7 separate regions of the Homo sapiens genome follow, and regions 2, 3, 4, 5, 6 and 7 are each linked to region 1. The links are contacts of gene promoters, found by promoter capture Hi-C in blood cells and fetal thymus (Javierre and others, 2016). All regions are on one chromosome and are shown on one strand. Each heading gives the region's core, a stretch centred on a gene start or on the middle of the fragment in contact. The rest is flanking DNA. Distances are from core to core; before and after follow the strand shown. Region 1 holds the start of RBM19 (RNA binding motif protein 19). Region 2 overlaps UNG (uracil DNA glycosylase). Region 3 overlaps KCTD10 (potassium channel tetramerization domain containing 10). Region 4 holds the start of SUDS3 (SIN3A corepressor complex component SDS3). Region 5 overlaps MVK (mevalonate kinase). Region 6 overlaps WSB2 (WD repeat and SOCS box containing 2). Region 7 overlaps RFC5 (replication factor C subunit 5).

Region 1 (4,350 bases), core at 1-2,500:
AACTTGTCCAACATGGCGAAACCCCATGTCTCTACTAAAAATAAAAAAATTAGTCGGGCTTGGTGGCGCGTGTCTGTAGTCCCAGCTACTTGGGAGGCTGAGGCAGGAGCATCGCTAGAACCCGGGAGGCAAAAGTTGCAGTGAGCCGAGACTGCCGAGATTGCTCCACCGCAGTCCAGCCTGGGAGACAGAGCCAGACTCCGTTTAAAAAAAAAAAACAAAAAAAGAAAAAAACAAAAAACAAAACCAAAAAAAGCCATGAAAGAGAGAGAAAAAAAAGAGATAAGACAAACAATGATAAGAGAATCAACTACACTTGAAACACAACAAAGCTGAATTTGGGAGGGAAAGGAAGTGCAGCTACGCTAAAAATCCTCATCCCACAAAGCGAGGCATCAAGAGACACTGTCTAACCTGATGGAAGGAGCAGTAATCCATTTAAAAACAAAAAAACAAAACAGAACAAAAAACAGCGAGAGAGAGAAAAAAGGATGATCCATTCGAGCCCACCGCATCTAATCATCTAATATTACGTACATTCACCTATTTTGCCTACCACGTGTCGGGTTCTGCGCTGGGCTCCAGGGAAACAAAAAAGTATGGCTGGGTCACCACTCCCCACTTACTGGATAAATGCTGTAAAGCCCTTTACCCACTCCGTATTCCTACTTGCCCTAAGGATGGGAGTGGGAATTGGAACGCAGGTCCGCAGATTAATATTCCCCATGTCTTCCCCAACAGTTTCCAGACTGGGAGAGGAATATAAATACAGTGTCGGACCATGTCCCGGGTCAACAACTAAAAAACAGTGATCGAATGAAAGAGGTTGTGGGAGCAGGGTATTCGCCACAAGGTGGGAGTTGTCATCTCCCCGAGAAGAGGTGTGTTAGGAGTCAGGTACCAAACAACCGGCCGTGAAACCGTAAGCAGTCACTATTCCTCTTTCCTCGGGATCAAATGGGGATAAGCCCAGGATCCCGCCCCCTTTGAGTTCAGAATTGGCCCGGAGTCCTGCCCCAGAGCAAAAATTCTTCGATCACCTCCAGGCATCTCTTCCCTACCTCACAGCTCCCGGCTGGTCTCATTTCAGATTCCCAAGTCCTGCCTCTGCACTCACCCCATTCGGGAGATTCTTCACGATCAGTCGCGACATGGCGCAGGGTCCCCGCTGTTTTGATTCCAACACGACTGGTCAGCGTCTTCCACCAAGTTTCACGCTACCGCCCTGGGCGCCGCCATCTTTACCGAGCCGGAACACAGTCACGTGGCTGAGACCTTGGCCTGACCTGTCCGGAAGTAGGCGTGGCTAATCCAAAACTACTCAGGGAGGTCACACCCCACAAGGGGTGGGCCTGGGCGCTTGCATTTTGCGCAGGCGCAGGGCCTTGGGCGGATTCTGTGAGACGCCAATGCAGCGGAGAAGGCGGCAGGGGGCGCCGGTCCCTAACATGCGCCGGTTTAGCTCGGTGTTAAGGGTCGCGCCAACCGGGCAATCGCGTTCTCTCCTTTTTCTTATTTTATTTTTATTATTGAGCCTTAGGACTCCCCTGAGAACGGGGGCAAGATTAGGGACCCTTGCCTTCCTCGTAGAAATGGGGAAAGTGAAGTTTAGAGAGATTGCCAGCCAACACAAATCAAGTATTGAGCCTTTTGTGTAAATACTTGGAATGAACATGTTGGAAATAAACGCTCTCATTTTGCAGGCAGATAAACTGGGAATCGTGCGTGTAAAGCAGCTTGCTCAAAGTCTTATAACTATGAATTGGAAAGTCAGATTCGAGCTAGGGACTGCCTAGGGCCCTACAATGAGTCTCTACGCCTTCAACCCCAGCCCCACAAGCATTTTGCCTCCCTTCCTAATGTTTGGAACTCTCAGCTGGCCAATCTTCTAGCTGAGAGATCTTGGCCAAAATGGCCTCTGAGCCTTTGTGTCTACTTCTATAAAATGGGAATAATTCTTTATTATGCTAGGGGTTAAGGAGGTGAGAACGTGAAAGGGATGTTATTTTCCTATTGCTTCTCTGAGCATTCTCGGTACCTACTCTTGGATGGAGACATCCTATGAAAACCCCTATTTTCACTCTTAAATGACGGTATTTCCTTTCTGTTTCCCCACAGTGCCTCAGCTGCACTGGACGTTGCTGCCAAGCTTCTGCAATTTCCTTCACCTAAAAGACATTCCGTCCCCCCTTCTTATTGTTAACAGCTTTATCACAAACCATGCAATTCACCCACTTAAAGTGCACAATTCAATGGTGCTGACTATATTTACAGAGGTGTGCAGCCATCACCACAATCAATGCTAGGACATTTTCATTACCCCCAAAGAAACACCACACCCTTTAGCTATAACCTTCCAATTCCTCCCTCTCCCTTCCCTCTGATAACCACTAATCTACTTTCCGTCTCTATGGATTTGTCTGTTATGGACATTTCATGTAAATGGAATAATACAATATGTAGTCTTTTGTAATTGACTTCTTTCACTTAGCATAATGTTTTCAAAGTTCTTCCATGTTGCAGCATGAATCAGCACTTTATTTATCTGTTTATTTATTTGAGACAGGGTCGGGCTCTGTCACCCCGACTGGAGTGCAGTGGCACAATCTCAGCTCACTGCAACCTCCGCCTCCCAGGCTCAAGCCATCCTCCCACCTCAGCCTCCTGAGCAGCTGGGACTACAGGCACATGCCACCATGCCTGGCTAATTTTTTTTTTTTGGTAATTTTTTGGTAGAGGCGAGGTTTCAACATGTTGCCCAGGCTGGTCTTGAACTCCTGGGCTCAAGCAATCCACCTGCCTTGAACTTTCAAAGTGCTGGGATTACAGACGTGAGCCACCACACTTTTTTTGCTGAATAGTATTACATATATGGATGTATTACATTTTATTTATTCATCAGTTGATGATGGACATTTGGGTTGTTTCCGCTTTGTGGCTACTGTGAATAATCTTGCCGTGAACATTTACCTGTAAGTTCCTGTGTGGGCATATGTTCTTATTTCTCTTGGATATATTCCTAGGAGTAGGATTGCCTGATCATATGGTAACTCTATGCTTAACCTTTTTAGAACCTGCTAACCTGTTATCCAAAGTGGCTTCCCCATTTTATATTCCTACCAGCGGTATATGAAGGTTCAAATATCTCCACATCTCCTCCAGTGTTTGTTATTGGGTCTTTATAATCATAGCCACTCTAGTGGGTGTACAGTGGTGACTCAATGTTTTGATTTGCATTTCCCCGATAACTAATGAAACAGCATCTTTCATGTGCTTTTGGCCACTGGAATATCTTTCTGAACCCATTCCCATCCCCTCTCTAAGACCAGCTCAAACATGGCATCCTCGAATATGCCTCTTTCCTACTGAGCCCCAAATGCAGGGAGCTCATGCATCTGCCACAGCATAAACCTACAGAACTCGCTGGTGAGGAGCGCACAGTGTAGGTTCAGAGTTATAGATGAGGCCACTTGTTCTTTCTACATTATGTTGCCATAGGGGCATCCTTAGATCCATCTTTGCAAAGCATCACACTGGGCACCAGGAGGAGACAGGTAATAGGAGTTCATTAAATGCTAATTGTAAATTAAGGTCTGTCCATTCAACAGAATTCTATGCAGTTGTTAAAAAACGGTAGGTATGTAGCTATAAATGTTTTTGAAGGAAATGCATCAGTCAGCAGGACACAGAGGTATACTCAAAAGGATTTAACAAAAGCAAATCTGGACAAAAAGCTATTTACAGAAGGGTGGGCAGTGTAGTGGGATGAATGATCCCCTGTCCCCTCACCACCACACACACTGGGGGCATCCTGACCCCTGGAAGCTGTAAATGTGACTTTATTTGCAAAAAAGTGTTGTATTAGTTTGTTCTCACGCTGCTAATGAAGACATACCTGAGACTGGGTAATTTATAAAGGAAAGAGATTTAATGGACTCACAGTTCCACATGGCTGGGGAGGCCTCACAATCATGGTGGAAGAGCAAGGGATGTCTTACCTGGTGGCAGGCAAAGAGAGAATGAGAACCAAGTGAAAGGCTTTCCCCTTATAAAACCATCAGATCTCGTGAGACTTATTCACTACCACGAAAACAGTATGGGGAAACCACCCCCATAATTCAATTATCTCCCACTGGGTCCCTCCCAGGACACGTGGGGATTATGGGAGCTACAATTCAAGATGAGATTTGGTGGGGACACAGCCAAACCATATCAAGGGTCTTTGCAAATGTACTTAAGGGTCTCAAAATGAGATCATCCTGAATTATCCTGGTAGACCCTAAATCCAATGACACATGTCCTTTTAAAGGACACACAGAGAACGTCATGTGTAGGTGGAGGTAGAGTCTG
Region 2 (4,350 bases), core at 1,366-3,865, 4.9 Mb before region 1:
GAGGGGAGAGGGGGCGGGACCCAGAGGGAGGTTTTTTGCCGCGAAAAGACCACGTGGGGACGCGGTGGGGCGGGTCTGGCGGGGGCGGGGCACCTCTGTGCAGGGTTCCCAGTCACCGCGACGCTCCTCGGGAAGCCATAGGGCGCCTCCCAGCCCGTCTCCCCGCTCCAGTTTAGAACCTAATTCCCAATTCCCGGACCGGGCCCAGCCCTGGGCTCTTACTGTCCGCTTTTGCTGGGACCTGTTCCACAAATGGGCGTCTTCTGCCTTGGGCCGTGGGGGTTGGGCCGGAAGCTGCGGACGCCTGGGAAGGGGCCGCTGCAGCTCTTGAGCCGCCTCTGCGGGGACCACTTGCAGGCCATCCCAGCCAAGAAGGCCCCGGCTGGGCAGGAGGAGCCTGGGACGCCGCCCTCCTCGCCGCTGAGTGCCGAGCAGTTGGACCGGATCCAGAGGAACAAGGCCGCGGCCCTGCTCAGACTCGCGGCCCGCAACGTGCCCGTGGGCTTTGGAGAGAGCTGGAAGAAGCACCTCAGCGGGGAGTTCGGGAAACCGTATTTTATCAAGGTAAATATGGAAATGCACCTTCCATAAGGGTAAATGTGGAGGCTGCCGGCCCTTTTGTCTTGTTAGTGTAGCCGGCCAAGTTCATGTTTCCGTAGGCTTAGGTTGTACCCCCTTCAACCTCCTTTACTCACAAAGGGGGTAAAAGAAAGCCATGATGTTTCACTCTGCAGCTTTATATTGGTTAAAGTTGTTAACGACCCGCGAGATGATATCATGGATTCATTTAAGTCACATAGTCTATTGTCCAGGAAAGGCTGGCGTAGTAAAATCACCAACCATCCTGAATGAAACCTGGCTTGAGCTTTAAAAAGCCGAGAGGAGTGGCACTGTCAGGACCCAGCCCAGAGAAAGAGGCAAGGAATTGACCTGATTGAACCACTTAGGTGGGGGGGCAGGCACTGTTTTTGTTTGTTGTTTTTTAAAAGAATTTGGACATAACATGACAAAGAACTAATGATGTTCCAAATAACTTGCACTAGAAGCTTTCTTATTGAATTCTTATGGTTTCCAATGAGAATCTGATTTTAAGTCTAGTTTATCTTTAAATCAGCTAATGGGATTTGTTGCAGAAGAAAGAAAGCATTACACTGTTTATCCACCCCCACACCAAGTCTTCACCTGGACCCAGATGTGTGACATAAAAGATGTAAGTACAACTTGTTGATAATTTTTATTGGGGAGAAGGAGTCAAATAGTATTTTTAAATTAGGGACACTGGAGTTAAGCCACAGTCCATCATTCAGTAGTAAATAAAACACTGAAATCCCGAGGTTTGGCTGACTGTATTTCAGCCTGTATTTACTCTTTTTAATGTTTACCACGTGGTATTTATGTGGCAAAAAGGAAAACTATGTACATCCTGTGCTCTTATTTCTTGTATTTTTTTTAAATCCTGAAACTAACCTCCCGCGGTGTCAGATGTTATGGTGGTGGTGAAGTTCAAACTGACACACAAAGCAGTTAAATCTTTTGCAGCTTGTTATAGTCAACCCCACCTTGACCTGACCACACTGCCTTATAGTTAGCACTTTCAAGCTCTTGACTTCTGGCCTGAACAGTTTTGTGGTTCTGTTATCAGATCCCTTTGCTTTAGTTTGTCTTATATAACAGTTGCTGGTTGGCGGCTCTCATCCATCTTGTGTTCAGAAGTTCGTGGGGCTGGGCACGGTGGCTCATGCCTGTAATCCCAGCACTTTCGGAGGCCAAAGTGGGAGGATCATTTGAGGTCAGGAGTTCAAGACCAATGAAACCTGGTCTCTCCTAAAATACAAAAATTAGCCGGGCATGGTGGCGCACGCCTGTAATTCCAGCTACTTGGGAGGCTGAGGTGGGAGAATCGCATGAGCCCAGGAGGCGGAGGTTGCAGTGAGCTGAGATCACACCACTTCACTCCAGCGTGGGCGACAGAGCCAGACCCTGTCTCAAAACAAAAAAAAAACCGTGGCTTCTCACTGTTGAACTATGAAAGCAGAGCAACCCTCTTTAAATAGGGCCACGTCCTACCTCTCAGCCTTACCTCCACCTCCCACTCTCCCACTCCAGAGTTGGACAGTGTGGCAAACCCCTCCCCACTTCTGTCTCTTAAAAATCAAGTAGATGCCTCTGTGGCACCTCCTTGAATTGAAGTCCGTTGCCTGCCACCTCTGTGATCCAGTTTTCCTCTGAGCTGCTACGATGCATTTAGCACCTGCTGACACTGGACTTTTAGGTTTCTTACCCGTTTTCCTCCCCCGTTTTGTAAACTGGGGCAAGAATCTTGTGATTTAATGAATATCTGTGAAATGACATAGAAGTGAAATAGGTGAATAAATCATCTTGATAAGGCAGCCACACCTAATACTTAGAAAATCTCGTAAGCTTAATTTTAGAGTAAGAATTTAGAATCTAGCTCTTTGGTTTTGAAGCTAAATTAAATCCTATTAAGATCAATACTAATTTGCTTCTTGTTTGAATGCCCTATTCTGAATACCAGTAATCAGTATAAACAGGGAATATTAAAAGGAATATTTTGAGGGAATGCTCAAAAACCAGTTTCAAACCTATGAGGATCAGATGGGCCAGCAGGGCTTCTTGACAGACCAGCATTGGGAGAGTTGTTTCACAAGAGAATATGTTGGCATGGTGTGAACACCAAGGGGAGGGACAAGAGGTCCCCAAAAGCCTCCTGGTCATGGAACATCTGGAGCTGGATTCTGAAAGATAGAGTATGTCAGCTGTGGAGGAAGATTCTAAGAACGCAATGGCAGAAGCTTGAGAATGAAGACTAGGTGGGTGGGCCCTGGATGGGAAGGACGAGGCGGCCTATGTTTCAACACCTCCCGTGACAGGAACTTCATTTCATTTCATTGTCTCTTGCCACCTACTCCCATGGCCCTTTTGATCTGACCTCATTCTCTTCTGGCTCCACCTGTTAGAGGATATAGGGGAGCAGACACCCTCATATGCTGCTGGTGGGAAATCTGAATTGCTTTTTTTTTTTTTTTTTTTTTTTTTTTTTGAGATGGAGTGCAGTGGTGCAATCTCGGCTTACTGCAACCTCCACCCCCTGGGTTCAAGCGATTCTCCTGCCTCAGCCTCCCGAGTAGCTGGGACTACAGGTGTGCGCCACCACACCCAGCTAATTTTTGTATTTTTAGTAGAGATGGGGTTTCACCATGTTGGCCAGATGGTTTCGATATCTTGACCTCGTGATCTGCCTACCTCGGCCTCCCAAAGTGCTGGGATTACAGGCGTGAGCCACCATGCCAGGCCCTAAATTGCTTTAATTCATCGAAAAGTAACTGGGGGCTAGGCACAGTGGCTCATGCCTGTAATCCCAGCATTTTGGGAGGCCGAGGAGGGAGGATCCCTTGATCTCAGGAATTTGAGACCAGCCTCAGCAACATAAGGGAGGCCGTGTGTCTACAAAAAGTAAAAAAAAAATTAGGTGGGCATAGTGGTGCACTCCTGTGGGCCCAGCTACTCTGGAGGCTCAGGTGGGAGGACCACTTGAGCCCAGGAGGGCGAGGCTGCCATGAGCTGTGATGGCACCACTGCACATCAGCCTGAGCAACACAGCAAAACCGTGTCTCAAAAAATTAAAAAAGCAGCTAGGTACATATCTTTACAAGTTTAAAATACGCTTAGCCTTTGACCAGCAACTCTGCTATTAGCAATCTATGCCATAGAAGTGTTTTATTTGTTTTGTTTATGTTTGTTTGAGGCAGGGTCTGTGCTGCTTACATTACAGTATTGTTTAATTCCTGACCCCTGGTGGTTCACAGGTGAAGGTTGTCATCCTGGGACAGGATCCATATCATGGACCTAATCAAGCTCACGGGCTCTGCTTTAGTGTTCAAAGGCCTGTTCCGCCTCCGCCCAGGTACAGTTGCTTTACAGGTGACTGCAGTCCAGACATGATTCCTTTCAGATGTGTACTTAGCTTATTACAAGTGGGACTATCTGGGGCACTGTTCACTAGCCTTGGAGGAGGATTTCTCGGCCTCAGCACCATTGACATTTGGGGCTGAGTCATTCTTTGTTGTGGAGGAGGAGAGGAGTCCTGTGCTATTGCAGGATCTTGTGCCACATCCCTGGCCTCTACCACTGGAAACCAGGAGCAACCCCCAGCTCGTGATAATGAAAAATGTGCAGACATTGCCAAAAGTCCCTTGGGGGCGTAAAATCACCCCTGGTTAAGAACCACTGCTTTGGGCCGGGCGCGGTGACTCACGCCTGTAATCCCAGCACTTTGGGAGGCTGAGGCAGGAGAATCGCTGGATCCCGGGAGGCGGAGGTGGCAGTGAG
Region 3 (4,350 bases), core at 1,069-3,568, 4.5 Mb before region 1:
TGGGAGGCTGAGGTGAGAGGATGGCTTGAGCCCAGGAGTTCGAGGCCAGCCTGGGCAACATAGTGAGGCCCCATCTCCAGAAAAAAATTCTAAAAATTAGCTGTGTTTGGTGGTGCATGCCTGTATTCCCAGCTACACAGAAGGCTGAGGCGGGAGGATTGCTTGAACCCAGGAGATGGAGGCTGCCGTGAGCTATGATGGCCCTAGTGCACTTCAGCCTGGGTGACAGAGAAAGACCCTGTCTCAAAAAAAGAGAAAAGAATGCCCCATAAAATGCCATACCATTAGCTTTTCATAATGATATGAAGCAGGGGCTGAGCTCCGGTGACATGAAACAAGTCACAGTTTGCAGTGTCAAAATGACACTGTGTCCCCCGAGAACCTGTGTTTTCCAGGCAGCACCAGGAGAAAAACATCTCATAGCAGGGATTTAGAAGGTGAGCAGTCCTGCCAGTACCACTCGTATGCTCTGTCCAGTCGGGGACAGGGGGACAGAGGAGTCCGTTTCTTTTTTGATATGGCATCAGGCCACCAAGGCGAGGCCTTTCGAGGAGAAGAGCCTCAGCTTTCGAGGCAACTCAGCAGCCTTTCCTGAGCCCCTCCAGAGAGTGGGTAGGGTATGAGAAAAACCACAACAATCCTGGTTCTCAGATAATGCCTGCTTCCTCCAGCAGCGGGGGTGCTATTGTCTTGATTTCCACAGATACTCTCGGGCCATGTGGGGTGTGGCACAGCAAAGAGGATCCTCCCACTCATAAAAAGCTAAGTGTGAGATGGCAGCTTTGGGGCTCCAACCTCAGTTCGCTGCTGCCTGAACAGAAACCGGAGTTCACAGGAAGCAGAACCTCCAGCCCCACACCCTGGCCTTCCCCAGGACACAGAGAGGAATGTCCTCACCAGTGGGTAGCCCAAGCCTCAGCCCTCTTAGGATCAGAGAATTAACTGTGGGACACCAGGCTTAGGTCCCCCAATCCCACCCGCTTATGTGAAAACTCACCCACCCTCCCAAGTCAATGTCCCTGGAAAGGTAGGGCAGCAGCACAGAAGACCAGTCTCAGAAACAGGAAGGCGGGGTCAAGGTCAAGCCAGGCTGTGCCCTGGCCTGGTCTTAAGCAATCTCAGGCCAAGGAATGAAGGATGGTACTATTTTTAAACCTCATGTGACCTGCACGCAAACCCAGCCAGGTAAGGATGGAGCCCTGTTGTCAGGGGCTCTTTGATCATTCCAGGTGAGTAGGAAGTAGTTATGACAATGCCCCTCTCAACAATTCTTTGCCTTTTTTTTTTTTTTTTTGAGACGGAGTCTCGCTCTGTCGCCCAGGCTGGAGTGCAGTGGCGCGATCTCAGCTCACTGCAAGCTCCGCCTCCCGAGTTCACGTCATTCTCCTGCCTCAGCCTCCCGAGTAGCTGGGACTACAGGCACCCACCACCACGCCCGGCTAATTTTTTGTATTTTTAGTAGAGATGGGGTTTCACCTTGTTAGCCAGGATGGTCTCGATCTCCTGACCTCGTGATCCGCCCGCCTCAGCTTCCCAAAGTGCTGGGATTACATGCATGAGCCACTGTGCCCAGCCGATTCTTTGCCTTTTAATAACATGACTTTCCACAAGAAAAAGAAAAACGTGTGTGTGTGTGTGTATATCTATCTATCTATCTACACACACACATATACACACATGCACTGAATACTGACTATGTGCCGATGGCCCCACGGGGGAGGGTATTGTCATGCCCATTTCACCAGAGGAAGAAAATGAGACCAAAAGCTTCGGCCACTTGGTTAGGATCACCAGATACTAATGGGGAGCTGAGACTGAAACCCAGGTTGGCAAGTCTTTGTCAAGACCCCATCTTGGGAGGACAAGGGTCCAGGGAAGATACCTCTCTCTCCCCCAGGCTTGAGTTTCACTCTGAAGTCACAGAAGCATGGCAGAGATAAGCAAGCTAAGCCCTGGGTGAGGAAGTGACTTTCTCAAAGTAACATAGCAAATCAACGACCAAGTCAAGATGGTGGGAGTCCCCAACAAGCTGCCTCCTACACATCTTCAGGTCTCGACTTAAATGTCACTTCTTCAGGGAAGCCCTCCTTGACCACATAACGCATGGCCAGAGGCAGGCACATGGTGGGTGAGCTTACCTTCACTGTCGGTGAGCACTTCCATGCGCCCGCTGAACATGGCCTTCAGCATGGTGTCCTGCTTGGTCAGCGTCTGCATGGTGGTATAGTAGAGGGCTCCACCCACATTCAGCTTCACGTATTTGGAGCTGGGGCTCGTGCCCTTGAAGGAAGTGGTGCGGGTAGCAGCCGCTGGCACCGCTGAGCTCACCACACTTTCTCCTGACATCTCTTCCTGCCAGTGGAGAGGATACAGGGTCATGACATCAGGCCTGGTTGACTGCTTTCAGCCTGTGGATTCAATCTGGCCTCCAGATGTGTTTTGCTTGGGCCACGCATACACAGCATTTAAAAGTTTGCTTCCAATGTGGACAACTAAGGAGAGCTCACAGAAAAATCTGGACTTCTGGCTTCTCCTAAAATCAGAGGCCAACTGGGCTAGCAGGGGAACAACTGGTCAGAGCTGGGGTATTGGATGACCCCTAGAGAGGGCCATGCATCCCCTAGTTTGTCCCAAAACCCACCCAAAAAGCCTCATACACTGACCCTGCCTGTCGACCCTGCAGGCACAAGGGTGCCCCTAACTCTTGTGTTATAAGCACTTCCTTTCTGCCTAGCACCTGTATACATGAACACCCTGGCTGCACCCTAAAACAGCCTAAAGCACTGCCCAGGTCTCTTTACATTTCCTTATTGCCATGTACCACTCAATAGCTAGCTAAGTGTCATTTTTCAGCTGCATCACAGATGAAATAAGCTTTATGAAGTTGAATGGGATTCCAGCTGGCACTCCTATCACTTCCTGTAGGGAGAAGGTGTTTCTGAGGACTAAACAACAGACATGGAAACTTTTGGAACCAAGTTATTGCAAAATTAGACCTCCTAGACTAGTGCTGCCCAAAAGAGCAAGATCCCACTACCATCTCCCTGATAGCATGGCTGACTCTCTGTACATCTCAAAGAAATGGATACAGTGGCTGATTTACGCAGGCCTGGAAAGTGAGATTGGTATCCGGCACATGTGTACTCAGAGCAAACATGTCTGAAATGAACAGGTAAAACTGTAGAGGTGGAGATGTGCAAGGGTGGGCAGAATCTTTGCTGAATCTGGGGTAGCCCCCACGGCTGGCCCTACCATTCCCATTGAACATCAACAGTTTTTCACAGCACATCACCCTCAGACAAGGCCACTCTGTGCCCTTGCGACAAGACAAAAACAGGACCATTCAGTCATCATGTCCGGACACAGACAAAAACATAAACATTATCCAAAATACAAAAATGACCAAAGATCCCCTATCCTGGCTAATAGGAGTTATAGCTGCTGCTTTACCAATGAGAGGTTTAGCCTCCTTCCATTCTTCCTGCTTTCAAGTCAGGAATCACTGAGACCCAATCACAGAATTAGCCCTGCTTCCCAGCAGCATCCAACACAGAGCAAAGCCCCACTTCTCTGAACTGTCTCTCAAATCACCCAACACAAGCCCACAGCCCTTCTCTGAGATGTCCCACAGTTCTTCCCCACCCCAATGCAACAAGGAAATAAACCCAACTTTGCTTGACTACAGGTATGCTCCTCGTGCTTTTTGGCTGCAGGGCACTGACAGCACATAACTTGTTTGAACTATTCCCTGAAACTGAAAAAGAATTGTCTAGCTTTTCCAGATTTTCTATAATGAATGGGTACTACAACTATAACTGGTAAAACACAAACGTTATTTTTGTAAATGGGACTGGGAGTAAAGGGAGGCAGCTTGCAACAGCAGAAGCAACGCGACAGTCATGGACAATATTCAATTCAAGGTTATCCAACTCTTCTGGCCAACTCTCCCCAACTCCATGGCACCCAACAGTGGCCTGGATATCACCTGCCATGTCAGGGCCCTGCAGAGTGAAACAGAGAAAGAACGGCCTCCTGGAAAGAAATGTTTTCTCAAGAAACAGTTCCTTTTTCATCAAGAAAAGTCACAAGAAAATATGTTTTCAAAAGCTCAGGCTTAGCTCACCTGGGGTCTTTGCTGCCCGATGCCAAACACAAAAGAGGTCCAGAAGAAGCAGTTACCCCTCCTTTCTAGCTGTCCTCTGAAATCAGTCCCCAGAGACCTCACACTAACAGTTATGACCAGCCACCTCCCTCAGAAAAATCCTTTGTCCATGGGATGACAGGAGTAGCTTATGGAAATAAAAGTTTCCAAAAACTGTGAAGACCTCGAAGGGGGGGAGAAAAGGCTTA
Region 4 (4,350 bases), core at 1,284-3,783, 4.4 Mb after region 1:
AAGTTTTGTCAGATGTATACAGGCCTTAGTTCTCAGAGAACCCTCGATTGTTAACTTTTTAACTCCAGCTGACAAAATGTGTTTGTGTTCTAAACAGTATACATGTTTCTTCTAGTGTTTTAAGAATCATACGCCATTCATCACCTGAGGTCAAGGGTTCCAGACCTGCCTGGCCAACATGGTGAAATCCCGTCTGTACGAAAAATACAAAAATTAGCCGGGCATGGTGGCACCCACCTGTAATCCCAGCTACTAGAAAGGCTGAGGCAGGAGAATCACTTGAACCCGGAGGCGGAGGTTGCAGTGAGTCGAGATCGCATCACTTCACTCCAGCCTGGGTGAAAGAGCAAAACTCCGTCTCAAAAAAAGAAAAAAAGAAAAAGAAAAAAAAGAATCATACTCCATTCCAATTGTGATGTCCCCCTTTAAAGTTTCAGTTTGGGTGTTAGGGTAGGCAGAGAAGGCCTGGAAGCAAAGAAGTTGTGGAAATGGGGCTGGCAGGGCTTCGTTTCAAGTCAAGTCGAGTTCCTGAGCGGTGTGGCTGAGTACCGTTTTGAGAAGGGATATATAAAAAGATTTCAAGGTGGTAAAACTTGGTTTTGAGGGAACTTGATTTTTACAGGAGTATAGCGACTGTCCAAAATCATATTAAATAAATCTAAAGGTTAGGTAAGACTAAAGCCATAAGAGAATTTTTTTGAGTAGGTCCACCTTCACTAAAGAGCATTTTTTAGTTCTGCAGCTGGCAATCTGGACAGAAAAAAATGGGGTAAGTTTTCATAACCCAAGTGCTCAGTTGTGTCTATTCATTACATATAAAAAAGAAATGCATGACCATTAACAGATGCTGTTTGCAGTCAAGAAGACAGCAGTAAAACATAAGCAGGATAAAAATCTCAGCGTCTTGAAAGGAAACCATTTAGCAACGAAATAAACTTAAAAATTAATTGTATCAATGAACTCTTGATTTCTAAAATCTTTGCTTTTTCTGCACTATGATTACTGCTACTGACAGGAACGCAAGTTACTCAATATAGTTGATTGCAAGTAATTTAGATGTTCTCCAACAGCACAAAGAAAGAAAATGACTTCATCTTTTGGACAAGAGACAGTTCTGGAATCCTAGTTTAAATATAGATGGCAGACCTACGGTGCGATCTGAGAATGATTCTTATTTAGAAGGGGCTTCAGAAGATCTCAGAACTCCTGGAAAGACATCTTAGCATTCCATTCTGGAAATTCTTTAGTTTTGTTGGGAGAAAAAATCACTTACAAATAGAGCCAAGATTTTAATTAAAACAAGGTAGTAAATAAATGTCAAAATAAGTGGGATGAGAATAACGTTTCATTTTCAGAAGAGTCCATAGGGAACAATTCAGAGATAAATTTAATCACAAAAGGTCTGAGAATGGGAATATTCGGTTCCACCCTGGTTTTCACATCTGTTCATTTTCACTACTGGTTGCGTTTCCTACGGAGACTCGGGTGGAACATAAAAGTGGGGCTACTTTGGACAAACCATTAAAAACCTTACCCTTTTTTCTCGCTACACACAACTAGACCACATTGCTCTTAGCTAAAGGGACACCTTAAATCTATTCGTTCAGCAAAACTTATAACACCGTGTTCCTTTTCTACTCAGAGGGAATCGCACAAATTAATTCTTGCAGATACTCAGCTCTCCTGTTTTTTAAGCTTCCACGTGGGCCTTAGCCAAATAACTTCTGGTAGGCAAATTCTCCCCTTCTTCAGTTGAGAGCTCAGAGCAAGCTGTTGGATTAAGCAAAAGCACCTTTTAAAAAATTAATATTCAAGGCAGCTGTACCGCGGAGGGCCTGGGTCTCGGAGTCTAAAAAATCAGACTGGACGTTACTATTTTTTTTTAGGCAAACGACAGCTCGTTTCTCATTTGTAAAACCGGGGGAACATCTTACCGAATAAACCTTACACAAACAGAAAGGATTCCTAAGGGCTGGGAAAATACTATTTTGCTGTCCCCAGGATGGAATATCAGCATCCTTGTCTTTTAGCTCTTAATAAAGCTCTAACTAGTCACAGGAGGAGCCAGGCTGCATGATCACGCACACTCTGGACGTCTAGGTTTTCCGACCTAATAAGGGGGCAGGTCGCGTCGTTCCCTGCTTAAATTAGAGACCACCTCCACCTGCCAAGGGCCCTTCAAACCCTCCGCCCCTAGGTCGCTAACGATCACCGCTTTAGTTCTAGCTCCAGGCGCCGCCTGGCGGCTGTCTCCGGAAGTCGCCTGCGAGCCTCGGGGTCCTGACCGCTGCTGGGCCTGCCCGTAGATTTGCCTGACTCTAGCGAACCTGGCTCCGCCCCTCCCCCACTATACGTTGAGGATTTTAAGACGGCGATGAAAGGGCTGAGGTTGTGGCGACGGGGGCGTCCAGCGGCATCTCCACTCCCCCAAGGATGGCGGAATCAGGCCGTTGTCGGGCAGCTCTCGACCCGGAAGTCGCTCGCGGCGCGAGGCCCCCGTTGCCGAGCGCGGGCGCGGGGGGCGGAGCTCGGCGGAGACGGGGAAGGGGTCGCCGTGGCTGCCGGTCCTCGAGTTGGGGGCTGCCGCGGACACTGCTAGGCAGACGGCGAGTACCGAGCGCGGGTGGCCGCGGTGTCCGTGGGCCACGCTCAGCTGCGGTCAGAGGCGACATGAGTGCCGCGGGGCTGCTGGCCCCGGCCCCGGCCCAGGCTGGAGCGCCGCCGGCCCCCGAGTACTACCCCGAGGAGGATGAAGAGCTGGAGAGCGCCGAGGACGACGAGCGCAGCTGTCGGGGCCGCGAGTCGGACGAAGGTGAGTCCTGCCGCTCGCCCGGCCGCCCGGAGCGGAGGTGGGACCGCTGGGGGAGGGGGTGGGGCTGTTCGGGAGAGGGGCGGGGCGGCCTCCGGGGCCTGGGGCTGCGTGGAGGGGCCGCCGGGAGTTGCGGGGCTCGGGGAAGTTACCCCCATCCGTGCTGGAGTAGCGGGGAAGCCCTGGGTGCGTTACACTCGACCGTGATGGGGAGAGGGGACTTAGATGTTGTCACGCTGGGGGTCCCTTTAAGACCCCGTCCTCCCTCCCAGCCGTTTCTGATTGAACCTCACTCACTAGTAGGAATTAGAAACTCATTTACTGAATACATCGAGTGTAGTTCGCCCCTTTTTTGTGTGTGAGAGCATCAGAGTCCAAAGTTGCCCCTCCCCACCCCCGAAATGCATAAGTCATCTATACTTTAGGTAGTACACTATTGAGAACTCAGGTTGGTTAAAGGAAAGGGACCTAGAACCAGCCAGATACAGGTTTAAATTTGGCTTTGTCACTTAACTCAGCTTTGTAAACTTAAGTTTTCCAGCCTCGATTTACCCAACTGTAATGGAGCTGTTTAATTCCCACACCTGCCCTAGAAGGCACTTCCTAGGGTCGGTATAGGGATTAAATGACATGCGCATAAAGTACTTGGCCTGGTACTGTAAATACTCCGTAAATGTTCTCCCCACCCGCCCCCCTCCCGGAAACAGGTAAGAGAGGGAGAGATTTGCTTAATGGTCCCCAGGTGTTGTGTTTTCAGTCCCACGCTCTTTGCACTGTCATCACAGAGTCTCAGAGCCTTGCTTTTCAAACTGGGCTTTATAATTTGGCAAGTGTGAGGAACGCTATTTTGGAGGGATGGAGGAGGAGGAAGGTGATGAAATGTGAGAGATCAAGGGAGGAGAAATAGGAAACAAAGAGAGACCGATATATGAGCGGAATATTCTGGGACAAAATCGGGCCGTGGAGCAAAAGCTAGACCAGCTGTTTGGAATGGGGCCTACGTTTTATTCATCTGAGTTTCCCGAGTGCCAAGTAATGTGGCTGACCATGACAGGAACTCAGGGAAGGCCTCTTGACTGAAGGAGGGGAGAAGGGTTTGTGGGGAATTGGATCTGCAACAGCCTTACAAAAGACAGCTGCATATGCATGACATACAAAGTTGAGGGACTGCATTCGATTTAATTCCATCAGAAGACACGGCTTAACCAGAGATTTTGAATGTGAAGCACTTGCACTTCATCTCATACCCACGAGGGGGCGCTGTGGAGCCAAAATTGAGTTTTTTTTTCCTTCCAGTATAGGGGCTATTAAAATTTTGTACACACCCCAGCCATTAGCTTGTTCTAAGAACAATGTTTAAGATGTTCTGAAACAGTTTTCGTTTGATCATCTGGCCTCCTCCTTGTTCCCTTTAGTTGTAACTTGGAAAATATTTATTTGTGTCAGATTCCCCTTTTTTATTGTATACAGTTGGCTCTGCGTATCTGTGGGTTCTGCATCTGTGAATTCAACCAAGCGCAGCTCAAAAATATTCAGGAAAA
Region 5 (4,350 bases), core at 1,022-3,521, 4.4 Mb before region 1:
ACGCTGCCTGCCGTGTGACACAGTAGCTGGGAGGTCAGAGTGGCTGAGTGGAGTGAGCAGCCTGGGGAGCGAGGAGAGAAGAAGAGGCTGGGGCAGTGGCCAAGCCCGGATCACAGGAGCGCTTACCAGGCTTACCCCCTGCGTGGTGGCCGCTGGATGGGTATGAGCCCTGGATCTGGTGGGGCTGGTGACAGGCCTGTCTGCAGAGGACTTGTCTAAGAAAGATGAAGATGCAACACCCAAACTCCTCCCGCCTGGCTAGATGGGAGCATGGAGCAAACCAACCTTTGCTGCCTGCTGTGGGGTGCCACGGGAGCAGATGGCGGCTTCACAGAGAAGCTGGGGGCCAGACTCCACGTTAATCCCATGGATGGCTTAAGGAGCTTCCCCCCACCAACCATGCGTGGTGCCTCTCTGTAAAGAAAAAATGCATTGTTTGTGAAGTGGATCAAGATGCGGCCTCCCAGAACGCTGCCCTTTTGAGGAATGGCTTGTCTTAGAAGGGAAGAGAAAAGCCAAATAGAATGTTCATCTTTTGTAAAGTTAAAAAAAAAAAAAAGCCAGCCTCCAAGGCTGAGAATCGATATTAATTTCATGGGCTTATGGGCAGTGAGATAAAGCAGGTTTCTGGCAGCCCTTTCCAGCCCTATTGGATTTTACAATCTTGAACTGTGAAGACAGCGAATAAAGGTATCAAGGGCTCTGCCCGTCTCCAGCTGTCTCGGGCCAGAGCTCATCCAAATCCCCCACCTTCCATCCCAGCCTGCAGCCCTCTGAAAGGCAGGTTGGATGGCAAGAAATGTCAGCTTGAGCCCTCGAAGACGGCTCACTACAAGGACAGTTGGGATTGTGGCTTTAGGAGGGATTTATGCAGCTCCTCTGGGGCAGGTGAGGACCACGGGGTCATGCTAGAGAGTCAGCTCAACGTGGCTGCCTGGGACACGTCTATGTGCCAGAGGGCAGCCAAGGGGATGACTGACTCTACATCTGGTTTTAGACCAGGGCTGCTCGTCCGGGCACCATTGAGGTAGGGCAAGAATGGGCTCAGCGTGCTGGGGACCATCCTCCTCTGCAACCCTGCCCTCCCTGCATTTACGAGCCCGTGCGTGGCACTGCCCGCACCAGCTAGCCTGGGCATCTTCCCTCTGTGTGATCCATTTCAGGGCCTGTTGCTTGGTCTTTCTAAAACTCCAGCTTCGTGGGGGTGACCCACACAAGTGAACCTTCGCCCCCTCCTTGTACTCTGCTATAGCCACTTTGAATTTCTCACTGGATGACTGTGCCGGGTTCCGCCACCTCCAGGCTCACACAGGCTGCTCCAACTGCCAGAAATCCTCACCCTTCTAGCTTTGCTTGGTGGCTTCTTACCCTTCCTCAGTTCTCAGTGTCCACGTCATGCCAGAAAAACCTTCTCGGCCCTTCTCCCCTATCCCCTCTCTGGCCCCGGCCCCAAGGCCACGCTGTGCCTAGCATGTTGTAGGTCCCAGTTGAAGTTGAATGAATAAATGAGTGAAAAGCCAAGGGAGAATGGCCACCCAACCAGTGCCTGGGATGGAGGCGCAGCTGTGGCCAGCAGCAGAAGCCCCATGCTCCCCCAATCCAGTGTCACCTCTTGTGCCTCCCTTCTTCCTCCGTATCAGGGTGGGCGGCTTCCCGGACTGCTCCCAGTCCTGTCCCAGCTCCTCCATCTTGAGTTCAGTGTGGACCTGCCTCCTCTTCACCCTGCAGGTCGCCAGCTCTCCAGATCCTGCTGACCAACACCAAAGTCCCTCGCAATACCAGGGCCCTTGTGGCTGGCGTCAGAAACAGGCTGCTCAAGGTGACTCTTGTTCCCTTCTTGGGCAGGTTTCAGGAAGGCCAGGACACAATTACATCTGGATTTTCGAGGTCTCCCTCTGGCTGATGGGTTATAGGGGGTGTGGTGGGTGGTGGGGGCCCTTAGGGAGGTGGTTTTGGCAGAAAAGAAGGTACCGTCCGTGCCCGTAGCCTGGCCAGGAAAATGACAGTGGTCGGGCTCGTTAGACACACTGACTTTGCAGCTGGGAAGGCAAAAAAACAGGCTCAGAAGAGAGGTGGTTTCCCCAGAGGATGGGCACGGGCTGTGTGAACACCTCCTCCCTCCACCCCACTGCTGGGGCAGCTGTCCTGCATCTGCCTGCCCCCAGGCCTCACCAGCCGTTCCTTCTTTTTTTCTCCAGTTCCCAGAGATCGTGGCCCCCCTCCTGACCTCAATAGATGCCATCTCCCTGGAGTGTGAGCGCGTGCTGGGAGAGATGGGGGAAGCCCCAGCCCCGGAGCAGTACCTCGTGCTGGAAGTAAGAGCCTGTCTGCAGGAACCGGGGTTACTGAGTCCACACCACTGTCCAAGGCAGTGGCTCTGCAATCTGGCTGTGCTCAGAATCCCCCGGAAGCTAGCACATAGAGGTCAGGACCTGCCTCTGGCCTATGCTCTCAGCTGGGCCCAGGTCTGTGCGTGCCATATAAGCGTATCTTATTTTCAGGCCTCTTCCTGGGTGATTCCGAGTAATTGGGAGAGTGCAAGGGAGGCCAGGGCCTGGCTCGTGCTAAGTGCAATGGAAACAGGTTTGGGTCACTTCTAAGGAGCTCTGGCCCACGTAGGTAGATGGGGATGTGGCTGATGCAGAGTGCTCTGTCGGTGCAGGGGTGACTTCTTGGTCACTCTCCTGCTATTGCTAACTTCATGGGTGCATTCAACAACTACTTGTCAACTGCCTGCTTTGGGTCAGACAGATCCTAACATTGTTTTTTCATCATTGCAACCCCATCCACTGCCATTTGCATAATTCTAGTGTAGAGGTTGTGACCTGGTACTTTGGGTGTGATCAGGCCTGTGTGTGAATCCCAGCTCCACTTCTGCTGGACGTGTGGCCTCGCTAGAGTGTCTTAAGAATGCTCAGATTAGACGGGCGCAGTGGCTCACCTGTAGTATTAGCACTTTGGGAGGCCAAGGCAGGTGGATTGCTTGAGTCCAGGAGTTCGAGACCAGGCTGGGCAATGTGGTGAAACTCTGTCTCTACAAAAAATACAAAAGTTAGCCAGACATGACGGTACATATCGGTAGTCCCAGCTACTCGAGAGGCTGAGGCAGGAGGATCACTTGAGCCCAGGAGGTCAAGTTTGTAGCCTGGGCGACAGAATGAGACCTTGTCTCACACACACACAAAAAATGCTTGGAGTCTCATGGGTGACACGCAAGCACAATGTCTGGTGTGCTATGAGCTTAGGGAACCAAAGAGCCCAGGCTCCCCCTGGACACAGTCCACCTGGCCTGGTGAATATGGGCTGTTAGCCATCTGGCTGCCCTTGCAGAATGAGAGGATCGGGTGGCCCCTAGCTGCCGTGGCTGTGCAGCAGCCGTCAGTGAAGGGACAGGAGAGGGGCGTGCGGTCTCCATGTCACCACAGTCCCTCCCCGCGCCCCGCACTCTGTAGTCATTGCCTGGTGTCTCCCGGTCCCCCGTGGGCATTCGAGTCTGTAGCCCCTGTGCTGAGTGGAAGCTGCCACTAAAGCAAGCCTTTTACAAATGATTCTTTTCACTTGATCCTCACACCCACCTCCCTGTGAAGTAGGTGTCTTATCCCTATTTTACAGATGTAAAAACTGAGGCCTGAAGAGAGACTTCCCCCAAGGTTATCCAGCTAGTGAGTGGCCGAGCCAGGGGTCCAGCCGACGGACTGGTCTGTCCCTTTATTCAACAGATCTGTCATGAGCACCTACTATGTGCCAGGGCAGCGCCTCCATCGAATTCCTGTGTTTCGGCCCTCATTCCCTCAGTCTTTGTCTTCCTAGCTCTCAATTCCTTCCACATAGAAAGGAGGGAACACAGTCCCCCCGAGTAGGAAATCAATAATGATAGAATACTGCCTAAAATACACCCTGTCGAGTCCCTGGAGAATGCCACAGAACAGCACGTTGATTATACATTGTGTGTATTTTTGGCTGTGGCAGCCGCTGAAATGTGCAGCTCAGCTCCTGGACAGCTTTGCACTCAAACCAGCGAACTGTTCTCCTGTGTCACAACCTGTCATCTGATCCTTGACAGATTTTGGATCAGAATGTGACAGGTGTCTGGAACCTGCCTCGGCAACGTGACACCTGGTGCTCAGGCGCAGAGAGCGGCCCCCAGAAGTCTTCTCTCACATCCAGCCCATCAGGCTGGTGAGAGGCACCCGGGGCTGCCACCAGGCCATCATGCCTGTCTGCTCATTTGTCAAAAATGGTGAGCTTGGCGCAGAGCGAGGTATGAGGCAGGCTGTTGGGGAGGGCCACTCCAACCCTGCCTGACCGGCCATCCCCATGCGGGAGAGCTAGGTGGGCCTCCGCAGAGAT
Region 6 (4,350 bases), core at 1,378-3,877, 4.1 Mb after region 1:
CCAGACCTGCCTGGCTCTGGCCCTGGCACTGGCCCCTGAGTTTGTTGTCACGAGAAGCAGCACTTAAGAGGCAGGCTATGGGAAGAGGTTTAAGACAGCTTGGAACCACCAGTTAAATTTGTTTTATTTGTTATAAAATCCTGATTTCTGTATTTGTTTTATTTATTTTGGTTTTTTTTAAAGACAGGGTCTCTCTCTGGCACCCAGGCTGCAGTGCAGTGGTGTGACCATAGCTTACAGCAGCCTTGAACTCCAGGGCTCGAGCAGTCCTTCCATCTCAGCCTCCTGAGTAGCTGGGACTACAGGCGCATGCCACCATACCCAGCTAATTTTTTAATTTTTGCAGAGACAGGGTCTCACTATGCTGCCCAGGTTAGTCACTAAATCCTGGCCTCAAGCAATCCACCCCACCTCAGCCTCCCAAAGTGCTGAGATTACAGGCGTGTGACACCAAACCTGGCCCTAATTTCTGTATTTGAATTAAGGAATACACCTGTAGCTACTTTATTCCAAAAGAATTAAGGCATATTTATTATTTCATTTTAATATCCTAAATTTAATTTTTCTAGAAAGAGATACTAAAATCTCCATTTTATGGGTTATTAACTTTCCTGGGGTCACAAAATCAGGGGCAGAACTGGAACTAAGGTCTTAGGTATCCTGGCCTAATGCTCAACAAATACTTTGAGTTTGCTAATGAATCAAGGGATGAGTTACGTGAAAAGCAGGGAGGTCGTACCGTGGGAAAGAGCTGATGAGGCAAGACAGATTCATTGGCAGAATTTAGCTTCACTGAAGTTAAAGTTTCTAAAAACTTTATTTCAAAAAGCAGTATAATTATTTGGTTAATATCAATTATTTGCTCAATATCAAAAGCACTACATGATTTTTAAAAAATGTATAACTACCCTAACTAGAATATAAATGCCCCAAATTCTCTCTTTTAAAATACTTTTAAAATAGCTATTGTTGGCAGGGTGTGGCGGCTACGCCTTTAGGAAGCTGAGGTGGGAGGATCACTTGAGACAAGGAGTTCAAGGCTGCAGTGAGCTATGATCATGCCACTGTACTCCAGCCTGGGTGACAGAGCAAGACCTTTTCTCTGCCCCCCAAAAAGCCCGATTATTTTAAATTATAAAAATAATAAATAAAAATAGTAGCGAAACATGGGAGAAATGTGAAAATGAGACAAAGTAAAAATTACCTATAATCCTAACACCACCATTCTAAACGTCTCACTATAAATTTTTGTGTATATACACAAATGTCTTTTAAAAACAAATCTGATATCATACTGCATACATGGTTTTACAAACTGCTTTTTTTTGTTTTTTTAAGAGACAGTGTCTTACTGTTGCCCAGGCTGGAGTGGCCTGGTATGATCAGAGCTCACTGCAGCCTCTAATTCCTGGGTGCAGGTGATCCTCCCATCTCAGCCTCCTGAGTAGCTAGGACCACATGCACCTGCCACCACGCCAGGCTAATTTTTAAAACTTTTTTGTAGAAACCAAGTCTTGTTACGTTGCCCATGCTGATCTAGAACTCCTAGCCTCAAGTGATCCTCCCACTTCTGCCTCCCAATGTGCTGGGATTACAGGCGTGAGCCACCGCACCCGGCCATATAGCCTGTTTTTTTTCAATAAGCCTCATACTGCAAACATTTCCTCAGAATACTGTTCTTCAAAATATGTGATTTTGCCAGGTGCAATGGCTCACGCCTGTAATCCCAGCACTTTGGGAGGCCAAGGCAGGTAGATCCCTTGAGGCCAGGAGTCAAAGACTGGCCTGGGCAACATGGTGAAAACTTGTCTCTTCTAAAAATACAAAAAAATTAGCTGAGTGTGGTGGCACACGCCTGTAATCCCAGTTAGGAGGCTGAAGCAGGAGGACCACTTGAATCCAGGAGGCAGAGGTTAAAGTGAGCCGAGATGCGCCACTACACTCTGGCCTGGATGACAGAGCAAGACTCTCTCAAAAAAAAAAAAAAATGTGATTTTTCTCCAAAACCAGTAACTTCTCACTTAACATATGAAACAATAACACTTTGCTCATTATGTTAAATAATAAATATGAAAAAAAATGGTTAATACTCAAATACCTTTTTTCATTTTCCTTAGCTAATAGTGAAAAGATATATTCATCTATACAAATTTATGTTTTGTTCAGAAATAGGATTTAAATTTATGGTTTGTTCAGAAATAGGATTCAGAAAAAAAAATTGTTATTGTTTTCATTTACTGATACCAGTAATTAAAGTAAAGGAGCTTTCCCCAACCGACACATGCTCCACACTAGACCCTGAGCCACCCACAGTGCCCTTAGGGAGATGCAAGCCCAGGCCCTTCCTTCTACCCGGGAGCAGCTCTAGGTCATGTGACAGAAAAAAGACATATTTATCTATACAAATTTGAAAACAAGAGTGATTTTCAGGAAACTGACAGATCTTCCATGTTGTGCTTTTTAAAAAGAGCAGACTATAGAATTTATAATTCATATAGTAAATTTACTTACATGTCAAGTCTAGAAATGAAGGTGCATCCCTTGTATTTCAGGTAGGGAATTAGTAAACAATGTATGACCTTGGCATTATCATTAAACTGACCACAGAAGAAACTGAAAACTCTGATTAAAAACACATAACAAAATTTGATGGCTGCAAAAATATCATATGGAAATGGTAAAATTTTCGTAACCATCCTCTCATCCCTGGATTTCAAACTGTTTCCAATTTTCTTAACATGCAACTAATTTCATGATGAAGATCAGTGTATATAAATAGATGACACCATTTCTGAGATTTTTTTTTTTTTGAGATGGAATCTCGCTCTGTTACCCAGGCTGGAGTGCAGTGGCGCGATCTCAGCTCACTGCAACCTCCGCCTCCCAGGTTCACGCGATTCTCCTACCTCAGCCTCCTGAGTAGCTGGGATTACAGGTGCACACCACCACACCTGGCTAACTTTTTGTATTTTTAATAGAGACAGGGTTTCACCATGTTGGCCAGACTAGTCTCAAACTCCTGACCTCAAGTGATCTGCCTGCCTCGGCCTCCCAAAGTGCTGGGATTACAGGCATCAGGTACCGCGCCCAGCCCAGAAGAACATTTTTCAGGTCCTTGATGCATTTTGCCAGGCTTCCTTCCAAAAACTGCACAAATTTATCCCCCTCAACTCTAGCAGCATGCAGAGTACCCATCTCAACAAACTCCTGTCAACATTCCCTCTTATCAAGGCAAGTTTCATATCCAACTTATAAAAACCTTAAATCTAATGTTATTTATAAAAAATGCTTAAAGAAAAATAAATGAAAGCCTCAAGGGCAAGGGCCATGTCTGATTTATCTAACGACTCTCAGTCCCTAACTCAGTGTTACGCAAAGAAACTATGTAACCAAGGCTGGCCAACATAGTAAAACCCCATCTCTACTAAAAATACAAAAAAATTAGCTAGGGGTGGTGGCGCATGCCTGTAATCCCAGCTACTCAGGAGGCTGAGGCAGGAGGGAAGTGGAGGTTGCAGTGAGCCGAGATCGCACCATCGCACTCCAGCCCGGGCGACAGAGCGAGACTCCATCTCAAAAGAAAAAAAAAGAAACTACGCAACCAAGGCTGGCTGAATGAATAAATACAGACATAGAGTTGCCCTGGGACAAATGAAAACATACAGATGCTGGGCCATCTGAATGGGAGCTCACGGCATTCTGACACTGGGGCTTGTCCATCCCAAAGAAAGAAAAACTGGTATTAGAAACTAAACTTGGCCAAGCGCCATGGCTCACACCTGTAATCCCAGCTACTTGGGAGGCTGAGGCGGGAGGATTTCTTGAGGCCAGGAGTTCAAGACCAGCCTAGGCAAGACCCTGTCTCTACAAAAAATTTAAAAGTTGGCTGGGCATGGTGGCGCGCCTGTAGTATCAGGTACTTGGGAGGCTAGGGCAGGAGGATAGCTTGAGACCAGCAGGTTGAGGCTGCAGTGAGCCGTGACTGAGCTACTGCACTCAAGCCTGGACAACAGAGCAAGACCCTCTCTCTCTCTCAAAAAAAATAAATGAATAAAATAAACTTGGTTGATAATAAAAAGACAAAAACGAGCAAAGGCTCTGAGTAGACATTTATCCAAAGAACGTATACAAAGGACCAGTAAGCACCTGAAAAGATGCTCGGCCAGGTGTGGTGGCTCACACCTGTAATCCCAACACTTTGGGAGGCCAAGGCAGGTGGATCACCTGAGGTCAGGAGTTTGAGACCAGCCTGGCCAACATAGTGAAATCTCGTCTCTACTAAAAATACAAAAATTATCTAGGCGTGGTGGTATGTGCCTGTAGTCCCAGCTACTTGGGAGGCTGAGGCAG
Region 7 (4,350 bases), core at 580-3,079, 4.1 Mb after region 1:
CATTCTCCTGCCTCAGCCTCCGAAGAACTGGGACTTTTAGAGGCGAGCTACCAAGCCCATCCTGTAACCATTTTAAAATGTACAATTCAGTGGCATTAAGTACATTCAGAATGCAGTGTACTGTTGTGGAGTCTTCCCGCTATCTAGTTCCAAAATTTCATCACCCCAAATGGAAATCCTTTACCCATTGACAGTTACTCCCCATTCTCCCCTTCCTCTAGCCCCTGGCAACCACTAATCTGCTTTCTATCTATGGATTTGCCTATTCTGGACATTTCATGTAAGTGGAATCCTACACTATGTGGCCTTTTGTGTCTGGTTTCTTTCACTCAGGATCATGTTTTCAAGGTTCATGCATGTTGCTGCTTGTATCAGTAGTTAATTTCTTGTTATGGCTGAATCATATTCCATTGTATGGACAGAAGAGATTTTACCTATCCATTCTTCTGTTGAAGTCTATTTGGGTAGGAGTTCAGTTTCAAATGCACTTTGCAATAGTAGGTGCCCATCAGGTTGAGATTATAGGCAAACAGCTGGAAAGATGAAGTTAGAACAGAGTTTTCAACCTCAGCACTATTGACATTTTGGGCCAGATACTCTGGGTGGGTTTAGGGGAGCTGTCCTGTGCACTGTAGCATGTTTAACAGCATTCCTGGAGACTACACACTGAGTGCCATAGGACCCTCTGCCCACCTGTGACAACTAAGTATGTTTCTAGATATCACTAGATGTTCCTAGGAAGACAAAATCACCTGTGGTTGGGAACCACTGGTCTGTTCAAACTTAAAGTGCTTTCTTATTCTTCCTTTTTAAATTAGGATATGAAAGGATTCTGTTTTTTTTTTTAAGACAAGGTCTCACTCTGTCGCCCAGGCTGGAGTGCTGGAGTGCAGTGGTGCAATCTCGGTTCACTGCAACCTCCGCCTCCCGGGTTCCAGCAATTCTCCCACCCCAGCCTTCGGGGTAGCTGGGGCTACAGGGGTATGCCACCATGCCCAGCTAATTTTTGTATTTTTTGGTATTTTTTATTGAATGGCATATTATCGGGTTAGCAGACACCCTGTTAGTTGTTCTATCCTTACAAAGACCCTAGGAGGTACCCATAGAGACAGGGTTTTGCCATGTTGGCCGGGCTGGTTGGTCTTGAACTCCTGACCCCAAATGATCCACCCACCTTGGCCTCCCAAAGTGCTGGGATTACAGGCATGAGCCACTGTGCCTGACCTGCAAGGATTCTTTTGCACATAAAATATTCTTGCATTTATATATGTCATAATACATACTAAATTGTATTTCAGGGTTGAAAAATACCGGCCACAGACCCTGAATGATCTCATTTCTCATCAGGACATTCTGAGTACCAGTAAGTATTCATGTGTCAGTTGCTCTTGTCCTGCTTGAGCGACTTGTATAAATTGCTTGGTGATGTTGTCTCTCCTAAGTAATAACTTCAAAGAATCTGATTGCGCTTTGTAGAATGTGGCTTTAAGATCATTCATTCATTTTCTTCAGGTTGCTACAGTCCAGTGGGTAAGTCACAAACATGAGCATAAAATTGCAACACAGTGGAGTAAAAATAGCATTACGGAGAATCATTTAAGTTCACAGATGTTGCCAGCACCCAGAAAGGTGCCTGTAACACAGTAGGCACTCAATAAATACTTGTTGACTGGCTGCGCTATTGAGTGAATTCCAGTTGTTCCACGAAAGTAGATATGAGGCCCCTACATCAAGTTGTATCTGCCTCTGATTTGGACATTGAATTGGGTTGAAGAGCTTTCAGCCCAACTCAGGAGCCCAGGGTGAATGAGGCAGCTCCCAAAGACTGATGGTGCCCTTCTTCCTTCCTGATCCTCAGTTCAGAAGTTTATCAATGAAGACCGACTGCCACACTTGCTTCTCTACGGTCCCCCAGGGACAGGCAAGACATCTACCATCCTAGCCTGTGCGAAACAGCTATATAAAGACAAAGAATTTGGCTCCATGGTCTTGGAGGTAAATAAGATTGTTCTTACTCTACAAATAACTTAAGAGACTCCAGTCTCTTAATTTCAGTTCTGCTGGTTTTATTTTACTTTAAAAGTAAGTTGCCCCACGGACAGTTAGGAAAGAAGTAAATTTGAATATTTTAATTCCCTTTTTCCTATAATGGTCATTTTGGTCTGGATTAGCGTTGGTCAGCTAGAGGGCAGTTGTAGGGTTTGGCACCTTTTTCTTTGCTCTTGCCAACTTCTCCCCAAACCTTACTTTATGGTGACTTGGTTGCTGCCTGTCTGCCATGGCCCCTCTAGATCAATTCTCCACGTTTCTCCACCATATTCCTGCCTGGAAGGCTGAGCCCTACTGACTATAAGCTCACTTACCCTCTGGCTCCTGGTTGGGTTTGGCCAATAGGGGCCTTGGCAGGGGTGGGGGAAGGAAGTGAGTGATGCCTGGGCCTTCCCTGGGGGCTGACACAGGCTGGCAGCATGGCCCACCTGTAGGGTACATCTCACAGGTGGTACCTTTCCTGCAGCCCTCTCCAGGTGCCTACAGCCACTCCCTTCACTAAGCCCTTCAGGCTCAAGGGTGACAGGTATTGCATAGCCCCATGGTTTTCCTATATCACACCTTTAAAAAGATCTTGTTTAATTCTCTTCAAATTGCTGCATTTGAGTATGCCATCTGTATATTGCTGGGACCTTGACTAATATACTTAGATTCAAAAATCTGAGTATTGTCTATTGCAAGAAAAGTTTAACTTACTTTTTAGACGCAGGTCTCAGAACTTTGCTGCTACTAATGTCCTTATTTCAGTTTATTAAGAACTTGGTAACTTAGGATTGTGGTAGCTGAAATTTGTATCATTCTGCTCATACCAGAGGTGCTGTTCAGTGTAACCATACCAATTAATTATTTCTCCAATTTATGTCAGTCATTGTCCTCAAAGGGTGGGGGTAATATAGCCATCTTTATTAATTTAGTGAATTTTGTGTAAAACTGATTTTTTATTTTATGATGATCTCTTAGCCATCATTAGACATAGAGAGCTAGCCTGCTGAGCTGGACTGATGAGGAAATACACTAACACCAAGAACTCACAGATAGCACAGCAACATGGTTTTTGTTTTGTCTTCTGTCTTCCACATTTAGCTGAATGCTTCAGATGACCGAGGAATAGACATCATTCGAGGACCGATCCTGAGCTTTGCTAGCACAAGGACAATATTTAAGTAAGAATTATTTGTGTAATTTCGCTCCCTTGATTTTGATTAGTAAGATGATATGGGTTAATTTTTTAATCCTCTCCTTAGCCAGTTTATATGGGTTGAAAAAAAAAGTGACTTTGTCCAAAGCAACCATGGAAAAGAGATAAACGAGAGGGATGGTAGTAAGAAGCGTTATAATGCAACTGTTAAAATAAAATGTTATCTACGCTTGTATTAGCAAGTTTGTTTTTTTTTTCTTTTTTTTTTGGAGACAGGGTCGCCCTGTATCGTACAGGCTGGAGTGCAGTAGCATGATCTCGGCTCACTGCAACCTCCACCTCCTGGGTTCAAGCGATCTTCCAGCCTCAGCCTCCTAAGTAGCTGGGACTACAGTCGTGAGCCATCACGCCCAACTAATTTTTGTATTTTTTAGTAGACATGGGGTTTTGCCATGTTGCCTAGGCTGGTCTCGAACTCCTGAGCTCAAGCAATCTGCCCGCCGCAGCCTCCCAAACTGCTGGGATTACATACGTGAGCCCAGCCTGCATTACCAAGTTCTTTAGGGAGCATTAACTTCATTTTTAGTTCCTGAGAACTGGCTAGATTACCCTAAGACTGGATGAGCTAGTTTGAATTTAAAAATAAATTGAGATCAGGAAGGACAACTAGGATGGTGGCTAAAAAAAAAAAAAGAAAGAAAGAAAAAGGGTGAGGGCCGGGCGCAGTGGCTCACACCTGTAATCCTAGGACTTTGGGAGGCCTAGGCAGGTGGATCACCTGAGATCAAGGGTTCAAGACCAGCATGGCCAACATAGTGAAACCTCGTCTCTACTAAAAATACAAAAATTATCTGGGCATGGTGGTGGGCGCCTGTAATCCCAGCCACTCAGGAGGCTGAGGCAGGAGAATCGCTTGAACCCAGGAGGCAGAGGTTGCAGCGAGCCAAGATCGCGGCACTGCACTCCAGCCTGGGCAACAGAGCAAAAACTTAGTCTCAAAAAAAGCAAAAGGGTGAGGGACTCAGGCATGAGTGAGGGAGACGGGAAAAGCAGTAGCATGGTAGGGTGCCATGTGGAGGAAAGTGAAGATGCCAGAGGACACAGCGCACAGAAGTAGAGAAGTCTCCTCCATTCCCACCAAGGGTTGAAGGAGTGATGCGGCA

Evidence for each region. Contacts are between HindIII fragments. The CHiCAGO score rates a contact against its expected background, and 5 or more counts as called.
Region 2: a fragment that was not itself captured here is called in contact with the fragment with the promoter of RBM19 in region 1 in 1 of 17 cell types (activated CD4 T cells); the score reaches 5.2 in activated CD4 T cells.
Region 3: a contact is called between a fragment that was not itself captured here and the fragment with the promoter of RBM19 in region 1, in 1 of 17 cell types (fetal thymus). The highest score is 5.5, in fetal thymus.
Region 4: the fragment with the promoter of SUDS3 here is called in contact with the fragment with the promoter of RBM19 in region 1 in 5 of 17 cell types (naive CD8 T cells, total CD4 T cells, naive CD4 T cells and 2 more); the score reaches 11.7 in naive CD8 T cells.
Region 5: a contact is called between a fragment that was not itself captured here and the fragment with the promoter of RBM19 in region 1, in 1 of 17 cell types (neutrophils). The highest score is 5.0, in neutrophils.
Region 6: a contact is called between a fragment that was not itself captured here and the fragment with the promoter of RBM19 in region 1, in 3 of 17 cell types (non-activated CD4 T cells, total CD4 T cells and total CD8 T cells). The highest score is 6.4, in non-activated CD4 T cells.
Region 7: a contact is called between a fragment that was not itself captured here and the fragment with the promoter of RBM19 in region 1, in 2 of 17 cell types (non-activated CD4 T cells and naive CD4 T cells). The highest score is 8.5, in non-activated CD4 T cells.

What each region holds. Positions count from the first base shown.
Region 1 is chr12:113,965,075-113,969,424 of GRCh38, forward strand. RBM19 (RNA binding motif protein 19) reads right to left here and starts at 1,251. Exons shown (of 24, transcript NM_016196.4): 1 at 1,118-1,251. The coding sequence starts at 1,153. RefSeq lists enhancers at 1-601, 602-1,529, 1,488-1,557. The HindIII fragment of the contact is 5,534 bases long and covers 1-2,147 here.
Region 2 is chr12:109,098,075-109,102,424 of GRCh38, forward strand. It overlaps UNG (uracil DNA glycosylase), which reads left to right. Exons shown (of 7, transcript NM_080911.3): 2 at 358-564; 3 at 1,115-1,210; 4 at 3,828-3,925. Among named protein-coding and RNA genes, the nearest start is that of UNG, 2.7 kb to the left of the region's middle. RefSeq lists a silencer at 1-91. The HindIII fragment of the contact is 392 bases long and covers 2,420-2,811 here.
Region 3 is chr12:109,467,377-109,471,726 of GRCh38, forward strand. It overlaps KCTD10 (potassium channel tetramerization domain containing 10), which reads right to left. Exons shown (of 7, transcript NM_031954.5): 2 at 2,139-2,352. Among named protein-coding and RNA genes, the nearest start is that of KCTD10, 7.7 kb to the right of the region's middle. The HindIII fragment of the contact is 1,107 bases long and covers 1,766-2,872 here.
Region 4 is chr12:118,374,022-118,378,371 of GRCh38, forward strand. SUDS3 (SIN3A corepressor complex component SDS3) reads left to right here and starts at 2,534. Exons shown (of 12, transcript NM_022491.3): 1 at 2,534-2,812. The coding sequence starts at 2,671. LOC124903031 (a long non-coding RNA gene) reads right to left here and starts at 2,106. Exons shown (of 2, transcript XR_007063480.1): 1 at 1,935-2,106; 2 at 1,277-1,770. RefSeq lists silencers at 2,531-2,750, 2,781-2,930 and an enhancer at 2,589-3,089. The HindIII fragment of the contact is 4,103 bases long and covers 1,694-4,350 here.
Region 5 is chr12:109,589,043-109,593,392 of GRCh38, forward strand. MVK (mevalonate kinase) reads left to right here. Exons shown (of 11, transcript NM_000431.4): 8 at 1,729-1,819; 9 at 2,199-2,315. Among named protein-coding and RNA genes, the nearest start is that of MVK, 17 kb to the left of the region's middle. The HindIII fragment of the contact is 8,311 bases long and covers 1-4,350 here.
Region 6 is chr12:118,046,610-118,050,959 of GRCh38, forward strand. The region is part of intron 2 of WSB2 (WD repeat and SOCS box containing 2); the gene reads right to left. Among named protein-coding and RNA genes, the nearest start is that of WSB2, 12 kb to the right of the region's middle. The HindIII fragment of the contact is 8,916 bases long and covers 1-4,350 here.
Region 7 is chr12:118,017,774-118,022,123 of GRCh38, forward strand. It overlaps RFC5 (replication factor C subunit 5), which reads left to right. Exons shown (of 11, transcript NM_007370.7): 2 at 1,299-1,363; 3 at 1,859-1,995; 4 at 3,133-3,212. Among named protein-coding and RNA genes, the nearest start is that of RFC5, 3.2 kb to the left of the region's middle. The HindIII fragment of the contact is 6,314 bases long and covers 1-4,350 here.